6 separate regions of the Homo sapiens genome follow, and regions 1, 2, 3, 4 and 6 are each linked to region 5. Evidence: promoter capture Hi-C in 16 types of primary human blood cells and fetal thymus (Javierre and others, 2016). All regions are on one chromosome and are shown on one strand. The core of a region is centred on a gene start or on the middle of the fragment in contact, and the rest is flanking DNA. Distances in the headings are between cores, read along the strand shown.

Region 1 (4,375 bases), core at 362-2,861, 1.1 Mb after region 5:
ATTGACAGAGCACTAGTCAAAAGAATGTTTTAAAAGCAATTTTATATCAGTTTTTTCCTTGAAACTGTCTAGGTAGGTAAGAGGTAAAATTACATCTAGTTTATACATGAAGGGAGCACAAAAAGTGGCTGACTGAAAGCAGTCTGAGTTCCAGCTGTAATACATTTTGCATGAAGTTATTCTGCCCAGTTAACCAGATAACAATATTCAATTAAACTACTGATATGCAAAGGACTTAGTCTAAAATGAGAAGAGTTAAGAGAAGTATATTATCCCATAAGTTGGGGATTTATCTGTTTAGGGAACTGTCATAAAGAAATACCATGTATTGAGACTCCCATATCTAAAAAGTTCAAGAAGGAATATACTAAAATTATAAAATTATGAAAGCTCAATTTCATTGCCAGCCTGGGCAATGTAGTGAGACTTCATCTCTACTAAAAATCAAAATAATCAGCCAGCATGGTGGTGTGTGCTTGCAGTCCCAGCTATTCAGGAAGCTGAGGTGAGAAGATTGTGTAAGCCTGGGAGATGGAGGCTGTAGTGAGCTATGATCATGCCACTGCACTCCAGTCTGGACAACAGAGGGAGACCCGGTCTTAAAAAAACAAAACAAAACAAAAATCTGAGCATGGAAGTATTTCATATAGCATGTAATAAATTTATAGAATTTAATATATGAAGATGGTGGTAAAAATGCAGGGTTTTTTTTAACAAAGTATTATGGACAATATTTTGAATGTCAAAGACAGACATAACTATTAATAAAGTTGGAATACATCTAATCTTTAAAATGCACATCAGGCTGGCCAACATGACATTCCACAACCATGGAATCCTTGAACAGAATAGCGTATAAGTGTGACCATTAATTCTACATCCCAAAGATCAAGGCTGAAGACTTAAACATTTATCCAATAATTCAGTGTAAACCAACGCTCCCCTCCCCAGCCCTTGACTCAGGGTGTTGCACTGTCCATCAGGCTGGAGTGCAGCAGCATGATTATGGCTCACTGCAGCCTCAAACTCTTGGGTTCAAGTGATCCTCCCATCTCAGCCTCCCGAGTCACTGCCTGTTCTTTTTATATCCTAAAAGCAGAACTGTTGACCTTAATGAGTGATTACACCTTGGAAACTGCACTTGGCTTAACAGCCTGCTTCATTCACTTTGCTTGGGGTTGATTTTGCCTTACAGAAAACAATTAAAGTTTCCCTTCATTATTCTGAGATTTAAAAGAGAACCAAGCATTATATGAAAATACAGAAAGGCCTATACCTAGTAATAAATGAAAAACTGAACTCAAGATGACATATGCATACTGACACCAAGCACAATGGTATACTTCATATCAAATGACACAGTGACACAGGACAGTGGTTTGCAATAAATTTATTTAATCAGAACTTCAGAGGGTTCTAGAAACCTGCATTTTTAACAAGGACTGCAGATGATTCTAGGTTTTGATTAAAAGTGTGGTTTGGGGAAGCAACTTTACCCTTTATTGTGTGTTAAATTACATATACAATAAAACAAAAAGTCACGTAATGGAACAAAAAATTGCTTTATACAAAATATTAGTAGATACCCAAATATAATATGGTCTTAAAAATAAAATCATATGTATATAGTTGTATTCCTAAGTACAGTAGTGCCCCCCTCATCCAAAGTTTCCCTTTCTGTGGTTTTGGTTACCTGTAGTCAACCACATTCTAAAATAGGTGAGTACTGTACAAGAAGATATTTTGAAAGCAAGAGAGACCAACCACATTCACATAACTTTTATTATAGTATGTTATCATTGTTCTATTACATTATTATTAATCTCTTGCTATGCTTAATTTATACATTATACTTTATCATAGGTATATATATATGGAAAAAACAGTGTATAAAGGTTTGGTACTGTTTGAGGTTTCAGGAGTTCACTGGGGGCCTTGGAATGTATCTCCCGAAGATAAGGGGGAACTACTGTAAGCAAAATCGAAAGCTATACAACAATCAGAAATGGGAAGAGAGCAAATCCAAGTATAAGTGAAGACATTCCTCTGAATTCCCAGCATTCATCGAGCATCAAAAACGACCACTGTATTAATTTGAGTTAAGGACAAAAACGGTACTTAAACATTATTAAGACTGAAGGTTTCAAAGTCACTTTCTCTTTGCAATAAGCTGGTTTGTTATTTAACTTAAAATGCAAAAAAGAATGGAATTCACTATTTACTATGACAACTGGTTTTTAAATAAACTAAAAACACTTTCAATTTTTATTACCACCTTTTCCATAAAATGTATCAAAAAACACTAAAGCAGGCCAGGCGCAGTGGCTCACGCCTGTAATCCCAGTACTTTGGGAGGCTGAGGTGGGCGGATCACGAGGTCAGGAGATCGAGACCATCCTGGCTAACATGGTGAAACCCCATCTTTACTAAAAAATAAAAAAAATTAGCCGGGCATGGTGGCGGGTGCCTGTAGTCCCAGCTACTCAGGAGGCTGAGGCAGGAGAATGCCATGAACCCGGAAGGCAGAGCTTGCAATGTGAGCCGAGATTGCGTCACTGCACACCAGCCTGGGTGACAGAGCGAGACTCCGTCTCAAAAAAAAACAAAAAACAAACAAAAAAAAACACTAAAGTAATGTTAAAGCGGATAATCCGTCGATTTACAATGTGTGTTAGTTGTATCATAACAATTTACTCTGTATTTTATTTTTCCACATGGGGGTCACACTATGTTGCCCAGGCTGGTCTTGAACTCCTGCAGCCTCCCAAAGTGCTGGGATTATAGGTGTGAGCAACCATGCTGGGCCTACTCTCAGTATTTGAACAATTTGTATGCCCAACTTTTTCCATTAGGTAGTATACACAATATTTGTATTTCTCCTCGTGAACTTTAGCTTGTCCATAAACTGAAGCTCAAGAATGAATACTTATATAAATGTAGTCATGCACCCATAATGACGTTTTGGTCAAAGATGGAGCACATATAAACAGTGGTCGCATAAGATTATACTCTATTTTTGCTGTACCTTTTCTATGTTCAGATATACAAAAACATTGTGTTACAATTGTCTATTCAGTACAATAGCATGCTGTACAGGTGTGTAGCCTAGCAGCAATAAGCTATACCATATAGCCTAGATGTGTATGTATAGTAGGATATACGGTCTAGGTTTCTGTAGGAATGATGAAATTGCTTAAGGACACAATTCTCAGAATGTATCCCTATCCTCAAGCTTGACTGCACAGAATCCCTAAAAAATAAATTTATGAGAACCAAAATCAACTAGCATTATTTAGATTATTTAGAGCCTATGCATTGGTCCATGAAAATGCTAATCATGTTTGTTTTTTAAGTACTGTAATCCAGAAAGTTATCATTTTAACCAGAAATTAATCTTTATCAACCCCAGCATTATTCATTTCCTCCTAACTCATATTTAGAAAGCATCGTTAAAAGGATACATCTTTTAGTCCTTTTCTTGTACATTATTCTGTATCCACATTCTCTGCATCTGATTGGATCCCTAGATTTTATTTCATTTTCTGTGTGACACTCTAGAATTAAAAAAAAAAATTTACTCAATGCCTAAGAGGAAAATATTACAGACAAATTATCTTAAATGTATTATTTACCTAAGGCAATCCAAAACACTAAAATATACTCAATCTCAAGGGTCTGCTGCTTTTATTAAATATATTAAATAGGAAAGAAAAAGGTTGTAGGCCATGCATATTTCCAGGAGAGAGAATGAAATCTCAACGAGCTTTGTTTTTTTCTGTTAGTAAACAGAAGACCAAGGACGAACCCAGGTCTACTGACCTCAACGATTTTTTTTATGGTTGCTAAAGTGTTCTACTTTATAACTCTGAAGACCAGTAACTCATTTAAGCAAAGAATAAATGTAACAATTTCAAAAAAACTTAAATAAAATATTCTTACTTTAGGTAAGTGCTACTCTTACCTCCACAGATATATATCATTGGTTGCTGCTTTGGAGGTTGAACGTCCTTCTGGGTGTCCATTGTTAGCCCCTGAAATCACAGACTCAAATACTGAATATCTCAAAAGGGCTTCTCACAAGTCCATCCGGGCCCATTTTTCTCAGGAAAAGCTACAAAGATCCAATTCCTAATCTGTTCCTTTCCCCAAATCCTATGGGTTAGGTCTCAAGGACGAAACGCATACACACAAGTATTGAGCGTTTACCCCAAACTGGACATAATAACTACTTCATACGTGTTAGGCCATTATAATCTTCATAACAATCCTAGGAGACATCACTCTTGTTTTACAGAGGACGCAACCGATACTTAGACATGTTAATTTCCGCAGGATCACTCAGCTACTAAAAGTCAAAGGGATACAGATCTGACTG
Region 2 (4,654 bases), core at 772-3,271, 1.2 Mb before region 5:
TCTCTACTAAAAATACAAAAATTACCCAGGCATGGTGGCAGCGCCTGTAATCCCAGCTACTCGGGAGGCTGAGGCAGGAGAATCACTTGAACCCAGGAGGCGGAGGTGGCAGTGAGCCAAGATCGTGCCATTGCACTCCAGCCTGGGCGACAGAGCAAAGACTCCGTCTCAAAAAAAAAAAATTTTTTTTAGATCTGTTTGGCTTGAAATCTAGCAGTGTCTACTGGTCTACCTTCCTTCCTCAGGGCTCCCAGGGACATCTAATAGTGACCTTGAAATCACTTTTTAGTCTAAACTAATCTGGGCCAATGGTTGAGCTGGTAACCTACAAAAGTGTTCCATTATCTGCCTTGAGGGTACCAGGTCTGTCCTGATTTGTAAGTATTTTTTCATAAATTTTGCTCAGAAGAACTTCCTAAGCAAAACTGTGTGTGTGTGTGTGTAATTCATTAACAGACCACCTCTGTAGAAGGAATGTCATGTTCTCAGTTTTTGCCTTCGAAGAGGTACTTTATTTTTTAAAGGAGGTCATAGAAACCTTTGAGAAGAAAGTCATGAATTGGTTCCTTAGGGAAAAAAAAACAGACTTATTTGATTAAAAAAAATTTTTTTTTGAGATGGAGTCTCGTTCTGTTGCCCGGGCTGGAGTGCAGTGGCATGATCTCAGCTCACTGCAACTTGCCAGGTTCAAGCAAGTCTTCTGCCTCAGCTTCCTGAGTAGTGGGGTTTACAGGCGCGCACAGCCATGCCTGGCTAATTTTTGCATTTTTAGTAGAGATGGGGTTTCACCAAGTTGGCTAGGCTGGTCTCGAACTCCCAACCTCAGGTGATCCGACATCCTCGGCCTTCCAAAGTGCTGGGATTACAGGCGTGAGCCACTGTGCGCCGTGGCCAAAACTCTGAAAGTGTCTTATAGTAGAAACTCGGTATAAAAGATCCTATCTCGGCCAGGCGTGGTGGCTCAGGCCTGTAATCCCAGCACTTTGGGAGGCCGAGGCGGGTGGATCACCTGAGGTCAGGAGTTCGAGACCAGCCTGGCCAACATGGTGAAACCACATCTCTACTAAAAAAGAAATACAAAATTAGCCGGACGTGGTGACACATGCCTGTAATCCCAGCTACTCCATAGACTGAGACAGGAAAATCGCTTGAACCCGGGAGGCGGAGGTTGAGGTGAGCCGAGACCGCGCCATTGCACTCCAGCCTGGGCAACAAGAGCGAAACTCCGTCTCGGGGAAAAAAAAAAAAAAAATAATAATTTTCCGTTCTGATTCCACTGATCATAAATTGAACTCCTTTGTAGAACAGGTTTATCATCTTTCATTTAAAAGTAATAAAAAATCACGAATCATTTATATCAGGAAATTAGTGGAAATTTCCACATTTTGTCTTTGGGCATGTGATGGTGGTGAGGAAACTGGGGAGACCGAGGTAATAGAAGTTGCTGCAAAGCCAACTCCAGGATCCTACTATCTCCTTCTGGAAAGGCCCTTACATAATTTCCTTACTTTTCCAATAAAAGGCTGTATATGTCTTGCCCCTTAACTGATTTTACCAACTTCACCATAAATACAACTGCGGATGAAGGATGAGAAGCAACAAGAAACCCCTAAGGATCCGCCAAATAATTAGGGCTGCCCCAGGGGAATCCGAGCGAAAGAACACAAGAGCCCCTCTTCCTCCTCGCCTCCTCTGGGACACACACTTACCCTCCCTCCCGGCAGGTTAGCCCGCAGCCTCCTCCTTCCCTAACACGTGCTCTCCGGAACACTCACTCTGGAGACATCCCACCCCCGGCGGGGCTGGGCTCGGGAGCCGAACGGACCAATCGGCACGCGCCTTACAGCGTCGTGGCCCGACAACGTTGAGCAGCCCAATCGAGGGGGCCTTGCCGCCCGTTTCCCGGAGCCCCGCCTCTCGCCGCCGCGCCCCCGCCCGCCGGTCTCCTCCCTCCTCCTCCTCCCGTTTGCCCCTCCCCCGCCGCTCCGGAGCGGAGCCTGCGAGACGGAGAAACTGGGGCAGAAGTGAAGATGGCGGCGGCAGCTTCTCGCTAGTGACGCGCGGTGCGGGCTCATCTCCTTCCCCTCCTTCCTCACCTCCCCTAGTCCGGACCCCGTCCGCCGCCGGGACCAGACCGTCCCCGTAGCCCGCAGCCAGCAGCCGCCCCTCTCCTCCCCCGGCCGCCCCTCTCCCAACGCCCGTCTGCCGCTGGCCGGCGGCGCGCCCCTGGTCCCGGCCGCCTGCCTCGCACTCCGCGCTGTCGCCGGGGGAGCGGGTGGCGTGTGGATTCGCCCTCCTGCCCGCCCCTCCGGGCCGCGGACACACGCCCGGCAGGGAGGCGGCGGCGGCCCCTGCGTATTTGCTTCCCTCCATTTGGGGACTGGGAGGCGGCGGCGGCTGTGGGTTTTGGGGAGGGGTAGAGGGCTGGGGGGCGGGCGAGAGCGGGAGGGGGCCGCCCTCGAGTGGAGGACGAGAAGGAAAGCACCATGACGTCCATCCATTTCGTGGTTCACCCGCTGCCGGGCACCGAGGACCAGCTCAATGACAGGTAATAGGGCTGGCGGGTCGGCGGGCGCGGGGGGAGGGGCGCCCTTCCCTCCCTCCCCTCCCCCACGGGCCGTGCCGGGCGGGTGCGGGTGTTTACGCGCCGGCCGGCCAGCTGGGGTGGGGTGCGGGGGTCCTTACTGCCTCCTGCTAGGCTCCTTCCGGGGCAAACTTCTCATCCCGGGGGCAGGGGGCCGCGGGGGGAGCGCGGTGTAGACGGGACTCGCGGTGTAGACTGGAGAGCGCTCTGTAAACCCCCTTCCCCCTCCCGCAAGGAGCGGCGTTGAACTCGGCGGAGATGGGGGGGTGGTTTCTGGCTCCCGGGGGGCAGGCGGTAATTACTGCCCGGCCAAGGCCCGAGGAATCCATATTAGTCAAAGTTGAATTGAGACAGACAATGCGGATGGGGGATGGTGGAGGTAAAAAGAGAGGGAAGAGGAGAAGCGGGGCCAGGGGCCCCGGGGTGGGCTGGGCTGGGCTTGTCCCGGGCCCCCGGCAGCTGTGTCCGGTGGGGTGGTCTGGACCTGGGGATCCCGGGGTCGGGTTGGGGAGAGAAGCCGATTCCCGGCAGATTGCTGGGAGCGGGCGGGGGGTGGGGGGAAGGTGATAGTTGGGGGAGGGAGTGAGGGAGGAAGCGCCATGATTATTGTTATTATTATTAAATTTGAGCCCCTGCAGTGAGGTTTGCCTGCCCCGGGAGGGGATGGATTCAAGCGGGGGTGGGGAAGTGCATTGGATTCCCTTTACTCTCCTCCTGAAATGGTGCTGGCAGCTCCTGCTACTAGCCCCTGTGGTGCGAGCTTTTTTGTTTCCTTTTCTATTCTAATGATAGTGTTTTCCTGAGTTGTAATTTGACAGCTGAAAACCGTGCGTAGAGTGTCAAAGGAAAACTCTTACGTTTGCAGTTCGCAATGCTGCTTTTCTTAACACGCTGTAAATTTCTGGGTTGGGTTTGCTATGGGCGGAGGATGAATTATGATTTTATTTTATGTTTTGTCTTTTATAGGCTGTTTTGGTTTGGATTTCTCCTTTTCTTCCGCCACCGTTCCTTGCCAGTTTAGGATATTGAATTGCAGTGCCGCATGCTCTCAGGGAACTGAGATAAGGCAGGAAAAGTTCCTTCACTGTTGGAAAACAGACTCAGGAGGTTGAGGGAGGCCTCCATTAAAGCATGTCTTAGAATCTAAGACTCAGATCTAATGATGGGCTAAATGTTTACAGGATCACAAAGTGGAGCATTTTAAGTCTTCCTCTCTCCCAGTACTTCACTGCTCTCTACATTTCTTTTGCGTATAGAAGGCCATCTGGTCCCAAGTTTAGAAGTTACATAGAATTTTTGCTAAGTGACCGGGTGACTTAAGTTGCATGATGCCCTGTTTGTCATGCGCTTCCCAGAGGGAGGAAGAGGCCTAACTTGCTGCTGAGATACTGGCCTCTTGTGTCAGTGTATCTAACCGCCTCAAGTGGAGCAGACAGCTTTTAAATCCAGAGCTGGCGGTTTAGTTTCTGCACTTGGTTCGGATTTGCCTAATCTTTGCTGTAGCCATATTGTATTTAACATGTTTGGGAATCTTTTGAAATACTTACTGAAAATACTAACTACTCAGAGTTGTCACATAGTTCCTTTAAATTCTGAAATAACTTTTTAGTTATTTAACATTTTGTTATGTGGTTCTTAGCCTGACTTTACTTCATTAAAGATCTTTTGGAGACATTAACATAAAATTTTTTGGTAAAATTTAGAAACAGGCTAGTAGTGAGGATAGCTCTACGGTCATTAACAGAACCATGTTGGTAGTGCTTGTCTTGTTACTTAGAAAACCGCACCAGAGAGAAGAGAGGTAGGGCATGTTTTCTATATTAGTCCTAACTTTATGTACCAAGAAACCTGACTAGCTTACTCAGTTGGCTGTGCATGCCAAAACCTATTTTGCGGTTGTGTTGGGCACTTTGATTCATTTTTGAGCATTCCTTTTGCTTCAGCTATTTGAGAAATTTACAAGTAATGTATCTTTTTAAATGCTAACTCTTCTTTTTCCATTCCTAGTATAAACAATCAGCTTTGTTTGATTCTTCTATCATTATACAACATTAAAAATATTTAGATCAT
Region 3 (4,359 bases), core at 1,458-3,957, 1.6 Mb before region 5:
TTGAGCAGGACTGTGGAATTCTTGGAAGGAATTCATCTGTCTGGGAACTGGCATGACTCGGTTCCCCAGGGGCAGCGGGCGGAACCCCGTGACTCCAGGTCCTCGGTCCTCCTGGGCCACTGTGCCTGCCTCTGTGGTCTGCATCTGGGCCGTGATGCGCCTCTGAGCCTCAGGTCTTCCAGTCAAACTGGACTCCCTGCCATTCCGAGAACGCAGTCTGCTCTTTCCTGCTTCTCGGTTTGGGTTTCAGGCATTTGTTTCTGTCTGGAATGTCTTTTCCGATCTGTTCAAATCATTCCTTTTCAAGGTCCCTGCCCTACTGCCAGCTCCACCAGGAAGCCCTCGCCACACCTTCTGCATGTGCCTGTACTCCACAGCGCCCTCCTGCGGCACTGCCCAAGGTGTGCCCAGACTATAAATGCAGAGGGTGAGGACCAGTCAAATCCCCTCCTCCACCTGTCCCGGGGGCGGAAGGCACGTGCACAGAGGAGCCTCCCACCTCTTTTGAATGCCATGGACTGTGTCCGTGTTCCAAGACAGGGTGGAAGCCTCTTCTCTGCCCACACCCCTTCCTGATAGTTCTCCAGCCCCCCTGCCGCATTTCCTGAGTGCCACGGCGCCTTGTGGTTAGCAGTCAGTGACAGGGAAGCGCTGGGACCAGGCCTTTTTACCCAGCACGTGGTGTCTACAGTGCCAGTGGAGCCTCCCCCGGAGAGGGTCGGCATAGAGTGGGGTGGGGAATGAAAGCTCTTCCCACAGACAGACCCAGAGTCTTAAGGGGAAGGGGAAGACCCCAGCGACCTCCGGTGTCACCGAGGCCCGTGCTGGTGCTCAGGAACCGCCTTCTCCCAATAACGCAGCGCGAGCGACACGGGGCGGGGGCGCCTCGGGCGCGCTGGCTGGGGGCCCGCGGGGCGCCGCTCCGCAGTGGAAGGGGGCAGACTTCGGAAGCGGCCGCCGGCTGCTGGGGGTGGGAGACTTGCTCCCTCCTTCAGTCGCCCGCCGTCAGCCCGCGCTGCAGGTGACCTGGTCAGTGCCGATCGCCCCGCCCCCGCCCAGCCGTCTCCGTGGGGTTTTCCGGCTCTGCGCGCCTCAAACGACCTCGGCTGCCGCCTGCCCGGCAGCTCCCCGCGGTCCCCCACGTTCCCCCGCCCCCCGGGCCGCGCGGCAGGCCTTTCTGATGAGTCAGCGGGAGCCCGGGAGCCTCCAACCGCCCCGGGCATCTGCTCCGGTGACGCACCCTGAGTCACGGGCGCCCGGGCCGCCGCCGAGGCCGAGCGCGCAGCCGGGAGCGCCGAGCGCAGCCCCTACGCCTGCCGCGGGCGCCCACCCAGCCCGGCCCGGCCCCGCACCCTTCCTCCCTCGCTCCCAGCGCCGCCCGCCCTGCACTCCCTGGCCCAGCTCCAGGCTGACATCAGACGCTGGCCGCCCGGCCACCCTCTGAGTCAACAGTTTCCGAAGCAGAGCCCGCTGCCAGGGGCGGGGAGAGAGCGCGGCCTCCGGGGGAGGCGGGGGCGGGCACCGGTCTGGCAGCCGCGGGAGGGCGGAGGTGGGTGGGGACGCCGGAGCCTTTTACAAGAAGTCACGGGGGATGGGGGAGAAGAGAGGGCGAAAACCACCCTCTGCAGAGCTGCCGGGGCGGAGAGGAAACCCGCCGCCCCACACAGCCACGTGCTGAAGCCCTCACTGAGTGGGTGGCTGGGAAGGGAACCCGAGGGCGGGAGGAGGGGGAGGCACTTGCTGGGAAAGGCCCTGGGCCAAGTTTCTGAGGGAGGAAAAGAACCACCTTTGGACACCCTGGGTCCCAGGGGCCCAGCAGATATTTGTGTCTGGATAACAGGGCCCCACCCAGTTCCCTTTGATGGGAGCAGCTCTGGCCGAGCCCTACTCTTGGGGACTGGTGCTGCCTGCTTGGGGTCCGACTTGAAGAACTGCACTGACCTAACCTGACCCCCTCCCTTGACCACAGACCCTGTCACCATCGTGGGATGATGGGGTTGGAAGGATGTATGTCTGAGGGTAAAGGAATTCAAGAGCCCCAGTCCATTGAGAGTCACCTTCCTCGCTGTAACAAGGCTGGGCACTATGGTCTGCCCCTGAGTTGGTGCTGGGTAACCACTCTGAGAGGCTGCATCTGTGGTTCTAGAATGCTCAAAGTGAGCAAGAGACCCTTAAAAAAAGCATCTACCTGCAGGGGGACTAAGTGGCTTCTAGAAGCTTCTTTAACCCCGCAGATTTCCCTGATCACGTCAGGCAGGAAGGAAGGGTGACGTGGAGCCAGGAGGACAGAGTAAGGCAGTAAGCATCCACAGGTGCTTGGATTTCCTTCCCTCCACCCCATCGCACCCCGCCCACCCATGCCATGCCCCCCAGGATAGCAAGACAGGGCTGTCATTGGTGGGCCTCCGGCTGGAATTCACGCTCAGCTTCTTTCCGGGATTTGAACTTGTTGTTCTTTCCAAAGCCATGGTTCAATAAATGATGCCAACCTGGGAAGGGGAGGTGTCTTTCTCATCTTGCAGGCAGAAGCGGCATAACAGCTGGGTGAACAGAACCGGTCTGGATCTGTCCAGAGCTATTTGTCAGCACAGCTTTGCAGAAACTATGTGAGCGTCTCCTTGCTCCATATGACCCCCATTCAAACTCATGCTGAGAAAGAGCTCCCAGTCCACCTCTGCTGGGGCAGTCTTTTCCCAAGTGTGACTTTTCCAAGGGTGGGTGGTTCATTTCTGCCAATCTAACCCAGCTCAAAATAGCATTGAATCAGACTTCTGGGAAGCCCTGTGCTCCAGGCGCCTGTAGAAAAGAGTTAAAAATGACATCTCTTGGGAAACCAGGGGGTCTAATTTTGCTGAGGTGGGACAAGATGCAGAGCCCTGTGACATCAGAGGGAAGAAATAGTGGCCAGGGATAGGTCTGGAAAGTGTGAGTGGTGGAAGGTCCTGTGCTTTATGTGGTTGCCCTTTGGGAAGTCCGTGGCCTGGCCCAGTGGGGGGCAGGTATCCTGGGAGCTAAGGCCAGGTGTAGGAGGGGGCTGTGGCTTAAGCCACAAACTCCACAACCTCCAACTTCCACATTTTCCTTCAGGCTGAGAACCCGAACTGTCTCAGTAGGGGTTGACTCCTCCACCGTTTCTAATTCTGATTACTTACGCTTTTGGCTTGGGCCCAGCTGGATTGCCACCTTTATGAAGCTTTTCTCATGAGTTAACTTGACCCTTGGCACTTCCACTACAGCCTTTACCATGCTTTGCCTGCTTTGAGAGGCTTTGCTTTATTCGGCTTTCCTCTCCACCCAGCAGCCCACTGGGAGGCAAGCACTCCATCCTTGCCACTCGTTAGTGGAACTCCCAGGGAAACAAATGAGCTGTCGGCTCTTCTGTCTTCTGCCCCCACGTTTGGTCTCATAGGCTTCCTTTGTGTCTGATGGGGCTTCCTGTGTGCTGTCTCTGCTTCCAAGACAGCCTCATCTTGGGTTTTGACCCTATCTGCGTTTTTTTTTTTTTTTAAGGAAAACAATTTTTCTTAGTTCAAATAGAAATTAGCTTAGATTTTAGATTTGATCATTTTCTAGATTTTTTTAAATTTATGGGTACATAGTAGGTGTGTATGTTTATGGGGTACATGAGCTATTTTGGTATAAACATACAATACATAATAATCATATCAGGGTAAGTGGAGTATTCATCACCTCAAGCATTTAATCTGTTCTGTGTTACAAATATTCCAATCATACTCTTTTAGTAGTTTTTGTTTGTTTGCTTGTTTTGTTTTGTTTGAGACAGAGTCTTACTCTGTCACCTAGGCTGGAGTGCAGTGGCATGATCTTGTCTCACTGCAGCCTCTGCCTTCTGGGTTCAGGTGATTCTCCTGCCTCAGCCTCTGGACTAGCTGGGGCTACAGGTGCGCACCATCACGCCCAGCTATTTTTTTTGTATTTTTAGTAGACACAGGTTTCACAATGTGGGTGTTCTCTTGACCTCGTGATCTGCCCGCCTTGGCCTCTCATTTTTTGTATTTTTAGTAGAGACGGGGTTTCCACATGTTGGCCAGGCTGATCTCAAACTCCTAGCCTCAAGTGATCTGCCTGCCTGCCTCAGCCTCCCAAAGTGCTGGGATTACAGGTGTGAGCCACCACATCCGGCCTTCTTTTAGTTATTTTTACATGTATGATAAATTATTATTGACTGTAGTCATCCTGTTGTGCTACCAAGTACTCGATTTTATTCCTTCCGTGTAGCTACGTTTTTATATCCATTAACCATCCTCACTCCCCCTCATCCCTGGCCCACCTACCATTCTGGTAACCATCCTTCTACTACTCTCTGTCTCCATGAGTTCAATTGTTTTAATCTTTTTT
Region 4 (4,961 bases), core at 99-2,598, 1.6 Mb before region 5:
ATAATAAATAGGTGTTTCTGTATAGATAGAATGCATAGAGTACCTTAGTAAATCTTTGAATCACAATCTTTTGGCTGAAATGGAAGATTCTGTTAAATACTTTGAATAAACTTGGGGGGAGGGAAATAAAATTGCAGAAAACTGCAGAGCACTAAAACTTAAAGAAGGGCTACATCTTTATCCAGAAACCTGTTGCTCTTTTGCACGGAATGTTTAAATTCAGAGTTGGGATGGGGGTTGGGGTGAAGCACACTTATTATCTTCAGTTGCAGTGATTTCAAATTTAGGATTTTTTGTTGTTGGTTTGAACTGTCCCCTTAGTTTCTTGTTATTTCCAATTTGTTCTGCTTAGTCATTACTTTTAATTCTTTTCTTACTAAAATTTTATGGTGGTTGGGGGAAGGGAGTTAGCATCACTAACCTGACAGTTGTTGCCAGGAATTTGCTTTGTTTACTGCTAGTATATTAGAAATCCTAGATCTCAGAATCACAATAGTAATAAACAACAGGGGTCATTTTTTCCTAACTTACTCTGTGTTCAGGTGTGGAATTTCTGTCTCCCAAGAGGAAATGTGACTTCACTTTGGTGCCAATGGACAGAAAATTCTACCTGTGCTACATAGGAGAAGTTTGGAATGCACTTAATAGCTGGTTTTTACACCTTGATTTCGAGGTGGAAAGAAATTGATCATGAATCTCTAATAAATTTAAATCTCTTAAACCAGTAGGTGCTTAATATTTTTTGATTTGATTAATGCCCATTTAAATCTCATGGGTTCTATTAAAAATATATATATATAGGGCCCCAATCCATTGCCATCAAATTGCCCTTGGACTTTTCCAAGGTATATTATGGGGTTTTATGCAAAATTCCAAGCTACCATGTAACTTTTTTTAACCATTTAACAAGGAGGGGGAACTGTTTCCTACCTTCTTTACATGTTGTGCATTGTTGTGGTCCAGAAATGCCAAACCTTTTTAAAGATGGTGCAACTTTGAGTCCTTGGCTTGACTATACAGGCCTTGAACTTCATGGCATATCAACTTTGCCATATCTGCAGGAGAGCTGTTCTATAAGAAATAGCTCAGAGTTGCAAATATCACATGTGAATGATACGGTAACTTTTAAGAAATGTCTGTATTGTATTTGAAGACTGTTTGCCATAAATCTGAAATTTGAACCTATGTATTTCAATTTGGTATGCTAAAAAGTTCTGAATTAATGTAAAGTTTTTTGTTATAATATTGTAATCTCAGTTCAAAAGTTAACTGCAAATATAAAACCCAATGATTTCTATATAGTAAATTGAACTGTAAAGGTAACTTGTGTGTGATTCTGAATACATAGATAAATGTTTTTATTCCTCATGTTTTACTTTGGCTTCTATCTGAAATAGAGGTAAAATTTTACATATCAGCTTTATGTGTATTAACAATCTTGCTTTATTAGAAAGAAAATTGATTCTGCTAAAAAATGCTGGAAGTTATATATAGAACAGTGAAATTTTGGTAAAGTCCAGTATATATGTGAGCACTGTTTCCAGGACAGCCTTTTCTAGACACTTCAGTTCACTAGCCTCCTAACAATTTAAAACCCGGACTAAATGAATAGATTGACAAATTAAGCTAGATTTATTCCAAGTAAATATGGGCATTAATACCATTAAATGGAAATACTGGGTTAGAGAAGCCACACATTGCTTAATTCCTTTTTTCTTCTTTTTAGAGTATATATTTTAGTTTCCTAACCTGTCTTGGCCTTAAGAAGTCTTCTGAACTCTGCTGAAATGAAAAGCATCATCTCTTTGTTCTTTGAACACTTTAGTTAACTGGGTGACTTAATATTTTGGGGAGTAACTTTAAATTCAAAGATTTACTTAATTATTCAGGCAATGCACTAGTATAGGGTGGTGGTTAAAGGTGTAGACCTTGCCTCCAGTCTGCTTGACTCAAATCCTGCCTCTGCCATTTACTGTCTGTATGAACATAGGCTAGTCACCTAACCCTTTTGTGCTTCGGTTTTCCCAGATGGAAAATCGTGGTAAGGCCAGGCACAGTGGTTTATGCTCGTAAATGCCAGCACTTTGGAAGGTTGAGGTGAGAGGATTGCTTGAGCTCAGGAGTTCAAGACTAGCCTGGGCAATGTAGGGAGACCTGTGTCTCTCCAAAAAAATTCAAAATTAGCTGGTAGTCCCAGCTACTCAAAAGGCCAAGGTGGGAGGATTGCTTGGGCCCAAGAGGTGGAGGCTGCAGTGAGCCGCGATCACACCACTGCACTCCAGCCTGGGCAACAAAGTAAGACCCTATCTCTAATAAGAAAAGAAAGAAAATGATGGTAGTAAAAGTAGCAGCTTCATAAGGTTATAAGGATGTAACAGTTACAAGGTGCTTAGAACTGGCTGGCACACAGGGCTCAATAAACGACCCTTATTACCTATTAGATTGATTATACTGATTTGGACAAGTTGCTCTGGGCCTTGGTTTCTTGTCTGTAGGATGAAGACACTAGAACTTAACCTTACCAGGCCTTGAAAGTGCCTGGCACATGGATGCAAATGGCAGATACTGCCAGTGGTTGATAGCTTGGTATTAAGATCTCTTTAGCATGTACTTGACCATTCTCTTTTGTCCTTGTAAGTTGGACTTTTGGTTGGGCATCAGAGAAGGTTTTGTATTGCTGCCTTTTAGTTGATTTAATTTTAATGTAACCTTATAGTATTAAAGCACAGGCCAGGCACAGTGGCTCACGCCTGTAATCCCAACAATTCAGGAGGCTGAGGCAGGCAGATCACCTGAAGTCAGGAGTTTGAGACCAGCCTGGCCAACATGGTGAAATGCCATCTCTACTAAAAATACAAAAATTAGCCAGGCATGGTGGCGCACACCTGTGCCAGCTACTCGAGGCTGAGGCAGGAGAATTGCTTGAACCTGAGAGGCAGAAGTTGCAGTGAGTGGAGATTGCACCACCGCACTCCAGCCTGGGTGACAGAGCAAGACTCCATCTCAAAAAAAGAAAAGAAACACAGTAATAGTAGAAACTTAAATTGGCAGGAATCAAAATGTAAAACAAAAATTAGTCTTCTACATTTGAGTTGTGAGTAAATCCTATGAATCGCATCCATCCTGAGAGGAAAAAGGTGTGATGCAAGTAATTACGGCAGCAGGCTTTCATAATGAGGATAAACCTGGCCTAGGAACAAGCAACGAACTAGTTCTGGTCTTTACTGGCATTTGCATTAAGTTAAAGCTAACCTGAAAAGTCTCAGTTCCTACTCAGACATCCGGAGAAACTTTTCTCTTTGCATACAGATGGCCTCTACTACACATATCTTCTAAATCATAGTGCATGTCTTCACCCAGAAAGGAGTGGAACACAAACCACCTAGACTCAAAAGGCAATGTGACTTTAGTGTTACACAGTTGAAGATTTTGTTTTATTTATCGGAAACAGACTGTAAAAAGTTTTTTTTTTTAATGGCAATTTGTAGAAAGCTTAATCTACACAGCATGCTTCATTTTTTGTGGTCTTGGGGTACTAAATGGAGAGAAAAAGAACATCTTTCATACGCCTGAACTCCTTTACCTATGTATGTAATTGTCATCAGCTTTAAAAGCAATTCCATTGTTAAGTGGTCTTTCAAACCCTGATTCTACCATGATACTGCTTATGTCTGTCAAAACCCTTTGCAGTTGATTTGTTGATGGCCTGAGAAGATTAGCACTGGATCAGTTATGGGCAATTAAAGAGTTAAGTATCTGCTATTGAGTGACAGATGAAGTGATTGCACATTGGCAGTAGAGCAAAGGGGTTGTGTAGATGTGCTAAAGATACTGCAATATCTTATTTAGATTATTTTTAACCCCAGAGTCCAGCTAACCTTTATTTGTAAATAATGGTGCCCAACTTCATCTGGTGCGTACCTGTGCCTACAACTTTGTCCCCATTCAGTTTTTAGCAGCAATATGCAGAGGAGGGGACACTTGGCTGAAGTTTAAGAATTTTAGTTCTGTGAGTTGATTGGTTTTCTCCCATCTATTTTCTATTTTATGTTTCTCAAATTGCTCTGCTTTCACCAGGTATGGTGGGGTGGAGGATTCTCAGCTCTATTCCAAGCCTTCTGTCTTCCACTTAGGCAATTTTAAACTTCTGAGCCAAGGTTGCAACAATATGTTTTATCGCTAAGAATGTTCTTTTTTCCCTTCATCACTTTGGTCCCCTTTCCTCCAGCTCTGGACAATCTAAATTGTCTTGTTTTTGTTTTGAGACAGGGTCTCACTCTTGGCTCACTGTAACCTCTGCCTCTCGGGTTCAAGTGATTCTCGTGCCTCAGCCTCCCGAGTAGCTGGGATTACAGATGCATCACCACCATGCCTGTCTGGTTTTTGTATTTTTATTAGAGAGGGTTTCACCATGTTGACCAGGCTGGTCTCAAACTCCTGACCTCAGGTGATCCACCTGCCTTGCCCTCCCAAAGTGCTGAGATTACAGACGTGAGCCACTGTGCCCTGCCTAAATTGTCTTGTTTTATAATCTGTAAATCTTAACGATTCTAAGCATTCCCTGTATCTGAGTGGGGACTAAAGAGCCAACAGGCAGCTCTGAGTGCATGAGTGCAGTTTGTCGACTGAAAAAATGATCTGTCCCAGCTGATTAGTTAGGGAACTTTGTATGACATATGATTGGTTAGGGAATTTTTATGCCATTATGTCAAGGTCTTAGCTGATTCTCAATCAATTTGTATCGTGCCTGAAGGGTGATAGACCGTCTACCAGCATTCTAGAACCCAGCAGGGTGAGGGTTGGGCCTCTGCTTTCAGTGTAACACACCCCTGCCATCCCAGAGACTGGGCTACCTTTTCTAGAGAATGAACAAATGAGAGAGGGCTGTTGCCCAACTGCGCAGTGTAGGGAAAAGGATCTGGGATTTGAGTGGTTAGACAGATTCATCCAATCCTTATTTT
Region 5 (4,511 bases), core at 251-2,750:
TTCGTATTTTTCTCCACTCAAATGCAATAGGCAGCTAACTCCTTCCTGGCTAGTTTAAACAATTCTGTGGTATCTATAGCCCAGTCCAAGTCATTTGGGATATACTAATATTCAGCCAACATTTCCTGGGCACTGCCACGCAAACTTGGGAAACGGCACTACAGGCAAGGTGAGAACAGCCAATGCAAACACTTTTTTTTTTTCTCCTTTGTCACTAGTAGTTCTAATTAGAAACGAATGTGGCGGGGGTCGGGGGTAAGTATGCACAATAAAGCTGATGTCTAAAGTACTGTTTCCAGATATTCAGCAATTTTAATCATGGTTATAATCGCCATTGCTCTTGTCAGATATTGAAAGTTTGCTGCCACTGCCTGTAAATGGAGAGAGAGCGCGCGCAAAGAACTTTAACCATTCCCCGAAGGATTAGCAACTCAGTACCGTATATTGTTAGCAGTCAAACTAAACCCCTCCGGGAAGCCTGGCCAGCAATTTTTTTTTCTTTTTTTGTTTTTTTTTTTTTTTAGGCAGGGTCTCACTCAGTCGCCCAGGATGGAGTGCAATGGCGCGATCTCGGCTTACCGCAACCTTCACCTCCCGGCCTCAAGCGATTCTCCCACCTCAGCCTCCCGAGTAGCTGGGACTACAGGCGCGGGCCACCATGCTCCACTATTTATTTTATTTTATTTTATTTTTGTGGAGACGTGGGTCTCGCTATGTACTCAGGCTGGTCTGGAACTCCTGGGCTCAAGTGATCCTCCTGCCTTGGGCTCCCAAAGCGCTGAGATTACAGGCGTGAGCCACCGCGCCCGGCCTAGCCAGCAATTTTTAATACGACTTAGGCTTGAATCTTGAACTCACTAAAAGCCCCCAGCTTGGGAAAACACCTGGGGTTTCCATGGGAGTGAGGTAAAGGGCGGCTGTGAAAGAACAAAGGCTGTGCGTCCGCGTTCAGAGCCGCTGGGTCCGCCGGGCTCGCTGGGGGCCGGGGCCGCGGTGTCCTGGGTGGCGGGGCTCCGGGAATGTGACTCAGCCACCGCGGCCCCGCGATCCGCTCCCGGGCCAGCGCCTCAGTCGGTGCCGAGGAGGGCGGCGCCGAGACGGGCGCGTCAGCCTGGGAGGAGCGGGAAAAGGGTCGCAGCGCCTGAGGCCCGGCCGCCGCCCGAGTGGATGAGCGAGCGAGCGACTTGTGAAACACGCCGCGGCCCGGTCACCAACCAGGACCGGGATCACGTGGCTCCCAGGGCTGGGTGAAGAAGCCGCCCGGACCGAGCGCGCCGGAGAGGAGGGGCGCCTGGGGACAGAAGGCGACGTCCCCTGAAGTTTGTGTCAGCCAGGGCCCGCCCCCTCGCGCTTATGTAATAGGGGCGCGCTGCCATTGGCCCGCGCGACCAGCCAGGGCGCAGGCGTGCGAGCGGGGTGGGGGCCAGAAGGAGGCAGCCGCAGAAAGGCACATGGGCGGGGCTGCGAGGAGCAGGCGGGGCGGGGGCGCCGAGGAGAGCGGCGCGGCGTGCGCGGGCACGAGGCGTAGTGGTCTCCCCTAAGGCTGAGGCGGCGGCGGGCGCGCGGCGGCGGCGGGCGTGCGAGGCTGTTGTGCTCCCGGCTCTCGTGTTTCCCCTCCTGAGCGGGTGGAGGAGGCCCAAGCGGTGCTGGGCGCGCTCCCCCTTCCTTTCCCTCCGGCGTCCTCTCCCGGCCCTCTCGCGCTGCACTGTCTCTCCGACGCAAGACTGTCCCGGCCCGGGTGAGCGGCAGCGGGGGCGGTGCTGACGCCGCGGGACGCCCGGGAAACGGGGCGGGGGCCGGCCAGCGGGGGGCGGTGGGGACCGTGGGACTCGCCGCGGGTCGCGAGGGGTCGCGGGGGGCGGCAGGGCCCGGCCCGGGGCGGGCCGCGGGAAGGGGATGAGTTCGGGCGCCTGCCAGGCCCTGCAGGTGGCCGGGTCGCAGGCCAGCCGCGGAAGCGGAGCGGTAACCTTACCCCCGGCGACAGCCGCCGGTCAGCTGCCAGAGTGTGGCGCTCCCGGTGGACGCAGGGGCCGGGTTTCGGGCAGTCTCGGCCTCCAGGAGGCGCGTCTTGGTCCAGGGTCCGTGAGGACTGGCTAGATGGGGGCTGCGTGGCCTTTGGTGGCAGGGAGGAGGAGGGGGTCTCCGAGGCGGGAGAGGCGGGTTTGGGAAGGAAGGTGCGCCAGGCTGAAGCTGGGGTCGGAGAAGTGTTGGGTGGAGACCTCACTGTGGGTGCGTTCCTCCTCTCCTCTCCCCAAAACGATGGTGTTAAAAGCTAGGGTCAGGATGTGGAGCGCTGCCTGGGCCTCTTCCTTTCCGATGGTTATGGAGAATGAGCCTACTTCCTGGACCCAAAATCCTTTTCTTCTGTTACTCATTTATGTTGGTTTTAAAAGGAGCTTTGGGGCAGAGCTTACTTGTTGCCTCCTACGAGAGCGCCTCATTTTAGAACTCGTTTCTTCCACTACTTCCCTCTTTGCAGCCCCCTCGGAAAACCACACTGAGAGTTGCATTAAAAACCAGCATGTAGGTATTTGTAAGTGACTTTTTCCCTCCAGTTTGTCGCATTTAATCAAGGAGCGGTTGTAGCTGCCTACGATTTTGTAGAAAATTGTGTTGGCTTGAGAGCAAGTCCTAAGTTGAGCTGTCCAAAAGCAGGTGGTTGGTTCGTTTGAATTTCTGCTTTCAGAAAGGAAATCGATGGGGCGTGTTGTCAGAAGTTAGGGGCCTACCTCATGCATTTAGCTTATTTTATTCCATTTCCTTTACCTGGTGTTAAGTTTTCTGTCTTCAGAATAAGAACAAGTGACTACTGTCTTTATTAAGTCTCTTCGGTCTTTTTGGTTGCTGTTTGGTGACAATGGAAAATGGGTTGAATCTATTGTGTAATGTTATATTTTAGGGAAAGTCCTAAGTGCAAAAGTTAAAAATAATTTTGTGTGTCTAATGACATTGCTTTGTACGAGTCACAACATGGAAATATCAAAATAGCTAGTAACTTCTAGAAAGCAAAGGAACTTCTGAAATTAGTGGCTTACCATTTTTGAAGATTTTTTTTAACATAAAACAAGATTTCCCACAAAATCAGTGTATTAAGATACATAAAATACATTGTGTCGAAGAGTTAAGATGTGTGAGAAGACTGGCTATTTTGTTACAAGGTCCTGATAGTAAGACATTGAGACAAAAAACCTTGCAAAACATTGGTATACATAAAGGCTGATCACGTGACTACTGTCGTCCAAATAATACATAAGTATCCAAACCTGTTTCCATGGGAATAGGTTTGTAAGCTTGCGGTAACATCGGACTTAAATACACTTTTAAAAAAAATGTGCCATTTGGCTTAGAATTAATAATTTTTTTTAAAGCAAAAATGGAAGCTTAGTCTTCAAGGACTGATAACAGCTGGTAATATTTACCATTGTTTGGTGGGAATGGGGTTCTCATATTAGGCTAGCACGCTAAACATTTTCAATTACGAAAATGTATTAGGCTCGTGTGCTACCCTAATATAAAAACCCCATATTTCCTCAGTTGAAATAGTCAGCTGACTATCCTGAAAAGCATTGACCCTCTTTTATATTTTATCTGACTTTCAGTTCATTTTTTTAATGCTAGTGGGAACTTCTCCAATCAGTGTATTTTTTTAGTTTCCTTTTTTGGGGAACAGGAGGAGCTCAGTAATTTTTATGAAATGCTTTGACCTCATATCCATTAACTAATTATGGTCCTAGTCAGAAGAAGCTAGCACCCTTCCCTGGTGAAGTTGATACAAATCCATTGTATGTTCCTGTCCTGCAATGATTTACATTCAGTTACAGTACTAGTCAAAACTATATATATATGAATTCTACTTAGGATCCAATTTTGATATATTTAAAAAGCAATTGAGACTCATGATAGACTTTATGAGCAGGTTTAACTTGTGTGGTCGAATAAAAGCCTTTAATTTAAATGGAAAAGTAAAAGTAACTTTTTTCAGTGACTTGATTTTTTTTTTTGTTTTAATCCATTTGGGTTCACGTCAGATCATCGGTAACAAAAAGTGGTATCTTTCAGCTTTGTAAAAGAACCCTCTTAACCAAGTTCATTCCCTCAAATGGGAACTAACGTCTAGAGAGCAAAGAAACTTCTGGAATTAGTGGCTTGCTGATAATCTCATTTTATAATTTGTTCAGCAATCCAGCAAGACCAACTTTTTAAAAAAATTAATAACAGTAGTTTTATGAAAACTAAGTAAGAAAACAGTTTCCACCTATTTCTGAGGTCTCCTTTAGAAGGAGTAACAGACAGCTTTTATTTCTCTTAAAGTTATAAAAATCACAATCGCAAGTCACAATGAATACTGGGAAGGGAAATTACTTTTGCAGAGTGATCAAGTAAATGATAGCGGGGGCTAAACTTTTTTAGTAAACTTGTGAAGATTACATACAGTAAAGTGCATAAATCTTGAGTGTACAATTCAATGAATTTTTATAAGTAAACACACTTGATTCAAGAACATTTTCAGG
Region 6 (4,596 bases), core at 67-2,566, 1.0 Mb before region 5:
GGCATGGTGGCGCATGCCTGTAATCCCAGCTACTTGAGAGGCTGAGGCAGGACAATCGCTTGAACTCAGGAGGCGGAGGTTGCAGTGAGCCGAGATCGTGCCATTATACTCCAGCCTGGGCAACAAGAACGAAACTCTATCTCAAAAAAAACAAACAAACAAAAAAAAAAAACTTGTAGTCATCCTAGAATCCTCCCTCTACCCTACACTCCATATCCAACCACTGATCAAGTCATCTTGAGTACATTTACTTAACTCACATGCACGGATTCTTCTTGCATTCCCCACCACCACTGCCTTATTTCAAGCTTGCTTTATCCTGTACTGGGCCTATTCCAACTAGCTCTAAACCAATCTAATTCCAAAATTTTCACCTTCCTTCACACTGGAGGCCTTCCTGAATTATAAATGAATGGCTCATTAAATATAGACCTGTTTAGTGATTTTCAAACTAGGGTTCAGGATCTGCCAATTTTCCACAAGCATCTTATTTTGATTCTTAATATATATATGCAGTATCTTGAATTACCTGGTTGACCATTTATGATGGCACTGATGTCAAATAATACATAAAAACTTAAAGAATGGAATTAAATATGTAAATGACACATTTGTTCCTTATGAAAGGCAACTGATAAAAAGAGTTGTAGAAAAAGTTATCCCATGGCTACGATGCAAAAAAACATGCTTCATTAATGGTCACTATAAAATTCACACTGATGCAATATAGTTTCAGCAAAGCAACATCATCATCCATTGCTTTTGGTTGTAAACTGGAATTTTACCATTTCTATAGTCTTGTTTGTATTTAATTTATAGATCTACTTTTAGTTGTGTAAAGCTCCAAGAATAAGGAGTTTATTACTGGTCTTAGGTTTGTACATACTTAAGTAACAATACATATGTAGTTTAAGTCAATATCAAAGTGGCTGTGAAAATTTTTTTATTTAAAAGGGGTTGAGGCCAGGCACGGTGGCTCACACCTGTAATCCCAGCACTTTGGGAGGCCAGGGCAGGCGGATCACTTGAGGTCAAGAATTTGAGACCAGCATGGCCAACATGGTGAAACTCCATCTCTACAAAAATACAAAAATTAGCTGGACATGGTGGTGTGTGCCTGTAGGCTCAGCTACTCAGGAGGCTGAGGCAGGAGAACCCCTTGTACCTGGGATGCAGAGACAGCAGTGAGCCGAGATCATGTCACTGCACTCCAGCCTGGGCGACAGAGTCAAGACTCTGTCTCAAAAAAAAAAAAAAAAAAGGGCAGGGGTGTTGAGACATCAAGTTTGAGAAATGAGGATTTACCCAGTAAATGACATACAATAAGACAGCAATAGCTTGAAATTACATATTTTCTATACAAAAGGCTAGCTTGTCTTCCTAGGCGATCACCACACAAATCTCTAAGTGGAATGGATGCTGGACCAGTTACTATGGCTGCATAACAAATTATCCCAAAATTGGTGGCTTAAAACAACCATTTGTTAGGCTCGTGGATTCTGTGGGTTAGGAATTTGCACAGAACCCAAGATGGTGTTTTTCCTGCTCCATAATTTCTGGGGTTTTCAACTGGAAGGCATGACAGCTAGGAGTTGGATTCCTCTGAAGGCTCATTCATTCACACATCTGGAGGTTGATGCTAGCTGTTGGCTGGTGCTTCAGTTGCTTTCCATGTGGACTTCCCATGTAGTCTCTCTGTGTGAGCTAGTTTTTGGCTTCCTTTAGCATGGTACCTAAGCTCCCAAGGAAAGTGCCCAAAAGAGAGACAACACCAAAGCTATCTGTAGTGTCCTTAATGAATGAGGCTTAAAAGTCATGCATCACTTAACAACAGGAATATGTTCTGAGAAATGTGTCATTAGATTATTTCATTGTTGTGCAAACATCATAGAGTGTATTTACACAAACCTAGATGGTAATGCCTACTATACACCTAGGCTGTATGTGGTATTGCTCCTAAGCTACAAACTTGTACAGCATGTTACTGTACTGAATATTGTAGGCAACTGAAACACAATTGTATTTGTGTATCTAAACATAGAAAAGGTACAGTAAAAATATGATATAAAAGGTTTTTTTAAAAAGGCACACTTGTATAGGGCAGTTACCATGAATGGAGATTGCAGGACTGGAAGTTGCTTTAAGTGAGTCAGTCAGTGAGTGAATGTGAAGGTTTAGAGTATTACTACACACTACTGTAGATGCCATAAATACTGCATACTTAGGCTACAAGAAACTTATGAAAAATATTTTTCTTTCTTCAATAAATTAGCCTTACCTTACTGTAACTGTATTTCAAAAACGTTTTAAATTTTTAAAGCTTTTTGACTCTTTTGTAATAACACTTAGCTTAAAACAGTGCATAGCTGCACAAAATTTTCTTTCTTTATATTCTTATTCTATAAACTCTTTCCTATTTTTTAAAATAATTTACTTTTTGAACTTTTTTTGTTAAAAACTAAGACACACACATGCATTAGTCTGTGCCTACACAGGGTCAGGATCATCAATATTACTGTTTTCCACCTCCACATCTTGTCCCACTGGAAGGTCTCCAGGGGCAATAAATACATGAAGCTGTCATTTCCTATGATAGCCATACCTTCTTCTGGAATACCTCCTGAAGGACCTGCCTGAAGCTATTTTACAGTTACTGATTTTTTTATATATATAATTAGAAGGAGTATACACTAAAATAATGATAACTATAGTAAATACATAAATCAGTAATATAGATTATCACTATCAAGTATTATGTAGTGTACATAATTATATAAGCTATACTTTACACACTGGCAGATTTGTTTACAGTAGCATCAACACAAACACATGAGTAATGTGTTGTGCTATGACTATAACGTCACTATGATAGGAACTTTTCAGCTCCATTATAATCTTATAGGACCACCACCATATATGGGGTCTATCATTGACCAAAATGTTACATGGCACTTGACTGTATCCTATTTGTTAGAAGTTAGTATTAATAGCCGGGTGCCGTGGCTCACGCCTGTAATGTCAGCACTTTGGGAGGCCGAGGCAGGTGAATCACGAGGTCAAGAGATCAAGATGATCCTTGCTAACACGGTGAAACCCCGTCTCTACTAAAAATTAAAAAAATTAGCTGGATGTGGTGGTACTCGCCTGTAATCCCAGCTATTCGGGAGGCTGAGGCAGCAGAATCACTTGAATCCGGAAGGCGGAGGTTGTAGTAAGCCGAGACCGTGCCACTGCACTCCAGCCTGGTGCCCGAGCGAGACTCTGTCTCAAACAAACAAACAAACAAACAAACAAACAAAAGTTAATATTGATGGCCTATATGCAAAGGGAAGTGCATTAGACACCACCTTTTAAGGGGAGGTGTATCCAAGTTCTGGAACAGCATATGGTACCAGAAATATTGTTGTGGCCATTTTTGGAAAATACAATATGCCATAAAGTCCATATGAAGATGCAGAATCCTCTTACTCCTTGAGATCTTTCAGTTACGCGTGTTATTTTTTTCCATTTGCTCTTCCAATAACTTTGAACATCCTGGGGGAAACTCACACTGCCTACACTATTCTGAGTACTGTGATGTTTTTGCTGTGTCATTTAAGAATATTCAATTCTGCCACAGAAATTGAGAGAAACTAAGTATGGGAGCAAATGGCTTGTTAGACATAATGAAATTTGTAAGATGTATTAAGTATAAATAATAAATAATTACACTGTGAGGCATGTTAAAAATAGGATGAATGGAACATATATGTATTGAACATACACAAAAATAATGGAACACATGAGAGTTCCACTTTTAGATTAAAAGGGCTAGAAGGACCAAGTAAATTTTTTTTTTTGAGACGGAGTTTCGCTCTTGTTGCCCAGGCTGGAGGGCAGTGGCACAATCTCAGCTCACCACAACTTCCGCCTCCCAGGTTCAAGCGATTGTTCTGCCTCAGCCTCCCGAGTAGCTGGGATTACACGCTTGCACCACCACGCCTGGCTAATTTTTTATTTTTAGTAGAGACAGGGTTTCTCCACGTTGGTCAGGCTGGTCTCGCACTCCCGACCTCAGGTGATCTGCCCACCTCGGCCTCCCAAAGTGCTGGGATTACAGGCGTGGGACACGGTGCCCAGCCCCAAATAAATCTTAAATATTCATAAGGTAATGATCATGTTACTGCCAGACTGACAACTATGTTATCCCTAAACCAGCCACTCACTGGTGAGATCCACTCTGGCCCCACACGTGCTCTGTCCAAGAAACACAGATACCATCCATAGCTGCTCAGTAGGTTAATTATAACTGGTTATAAATGCAGTTATAGCTGGAGTCAGGTTCCAGCAGTTCTCCAAAAGAAAAGTGTGTGCTGGCTCCACCTTCTACCTGCTGAGCAGTCTTGCTCATCCTCACTATGGTCCTCATAACTACACCACCAGCAAGGAAGTCTGATGCATCAAACAGTACACGAACAGTAACATTAAGATTCAGATGGTATAATCCTTCCACTCTCTCCCCTCCCCACATCCTAACCAAAATATGTTAGTCCACTCAATCTCTTTCCCCTTGCTGTTATGTTTTAAAATGATTTAATAGGGTACAGCTTGTGTGCT

The links. The method cuts DNA at HindIII sites, captures the fragments that hold promoters and counts their contacts. A CHiCAGO score of 5 or more calls a contact.
Region 1: a fragment that was not itself captured here is called in contact with the fragment with the promoter of ZNF706 in region 5 in 1 of 17 cell types (neutrophils); the score reaches 5.5 in neutrophils.
Region 2: the fragment with the promoter of UBR5 here is called in contact with the fragment with the promoter of ZNF706 in region 5 in 1 of 17 cell types (activated CD4 T cells); the score reaches 5.7 in activated CD4 T cells.
Region 3: a fragment that was not itself captured here is called in contact with the fragment with the promoter of ZNF706 in region 5 in 2 of 17 cell types (fetal thymus and total B cells); the score reaches 6.1 in fetal thymus.
Region 4: a fragment that was not itself captured here is called in contact with the fragment with the promoter of ZNF706 in region 5 in 1 of 17 cell types (total B cells); the score reaches 6.8 in total B cells.
Region 6: a fragment that was not itself captured here is called in contact with the fragment with the promoter of ZNF706 in region 5 in 1 of 17 cell types (erythroblasts); the score reaches 5.3 in erythroblasts.

What each region holds. Positions count from the first base shown.
Region 1 is chr8:100,151,003-100,155,377 of GRCh38, reverse strand. POLR2K (RNA polymerase II, I and III subunit K) reads right to left here. Exons shown (of 4, transcript NM_005034.4): 2 at 3,962-4,031; 3 at 3,462-3,554; 4 at 1,375-2,084. The coding sequence starts at 4,022. The coding sequence ends at 2,062. Among named protein-coding and RNA genes, the nearest start is that of POLR2K, 2.6 kb to the right of the region's middle. The HindIII fragment of the contact is 3,247 bases long and covers 1-3,234 here.
Region 2 is chr8:102,410,067-102,414,720 of GRCh38, reverse strand. It overlaps UBR5 (ubiquitin protein ligase E3 component n-recognin 5), which reads left to right and starts at 2,021. Exons shown (of 59, transcript NM_015902.6): 1 at 2,021-2,548. The coding sequence starts at 2,487. It overlaps LOC105375683 (a long non-coding RNA gene), which reads right to left and starts at 2,382. Exons shown (of 5, transcript NR_168428.1): 1 at 1,710-2,382. RefSeq lists enhancers at 607-656, 757-866, 1,428-1,697, 2,072-2,850, 2,851-3,629 and 2 more and silencers at 1,848-2,047, 2,078-2,157, 2,218-2,657. The HindIII fragment of the contact is 11,584 bases long and covers 1-4,654 here.
Region 3 is chr8:102,803,706-102,808,064 of GRCh38, reverse strand. GASAL1 (growth arrest associated lncRNA 1) reads right to left here and starts at 1,035. Exons shown (of 2, transcript NR_149020.2): 1 at 1-1,035. RefSeq lists a silencer at 809-1,608. The HindIII fragment of the contact is 976 bases long and covers 2,220-3,195 here.
Region 4 is chr8:102,822,764-102,827,724 of GRCh38, reverse strand. AZIN1 (antizyme inhibitor 1) reads left to right here. Exons shown (of 12, transcript NM_148174.4): 12 at 1-1,417. Among named protein-coding and RNA genes, the nearest start is that of GASAL1, 18 kb to the right of the region's middle. The HindIII fragment of the contact is 4,292 bases long and covers 1-3,494 here.
Region 5 is chr8:101,202,662-101,207,172 of GRCh38, reverse strand. ZNF706 (zinc finger protein 706) reads left to right here and starts at 1,500. Exons shown (of 4, transcript NM_016096.5): 1 at 1,500-1,738. RefSeq lists silencers at 936-1,155, 1,366-1,965. The HindIII fragment of the contact is 4,829 bases long and covers 1-3,292 here.
Region 6 is chr8:102,242,670-102,247,265 of GRCh38, reverse strand. It overlaps UBR5-DT (UBR5 divergent transcript), which reads right to left. Exons shown (of 3, transcript NR_125415.1): 2 at 3,145-3,261. Among named protein-coding and RNA genes, the nearest start is that of UBR5-DT, 5.5 kb to the right of the region's middle. The HindIII fragment of the contact is 2,012 bases long and covers 311-2,322 here.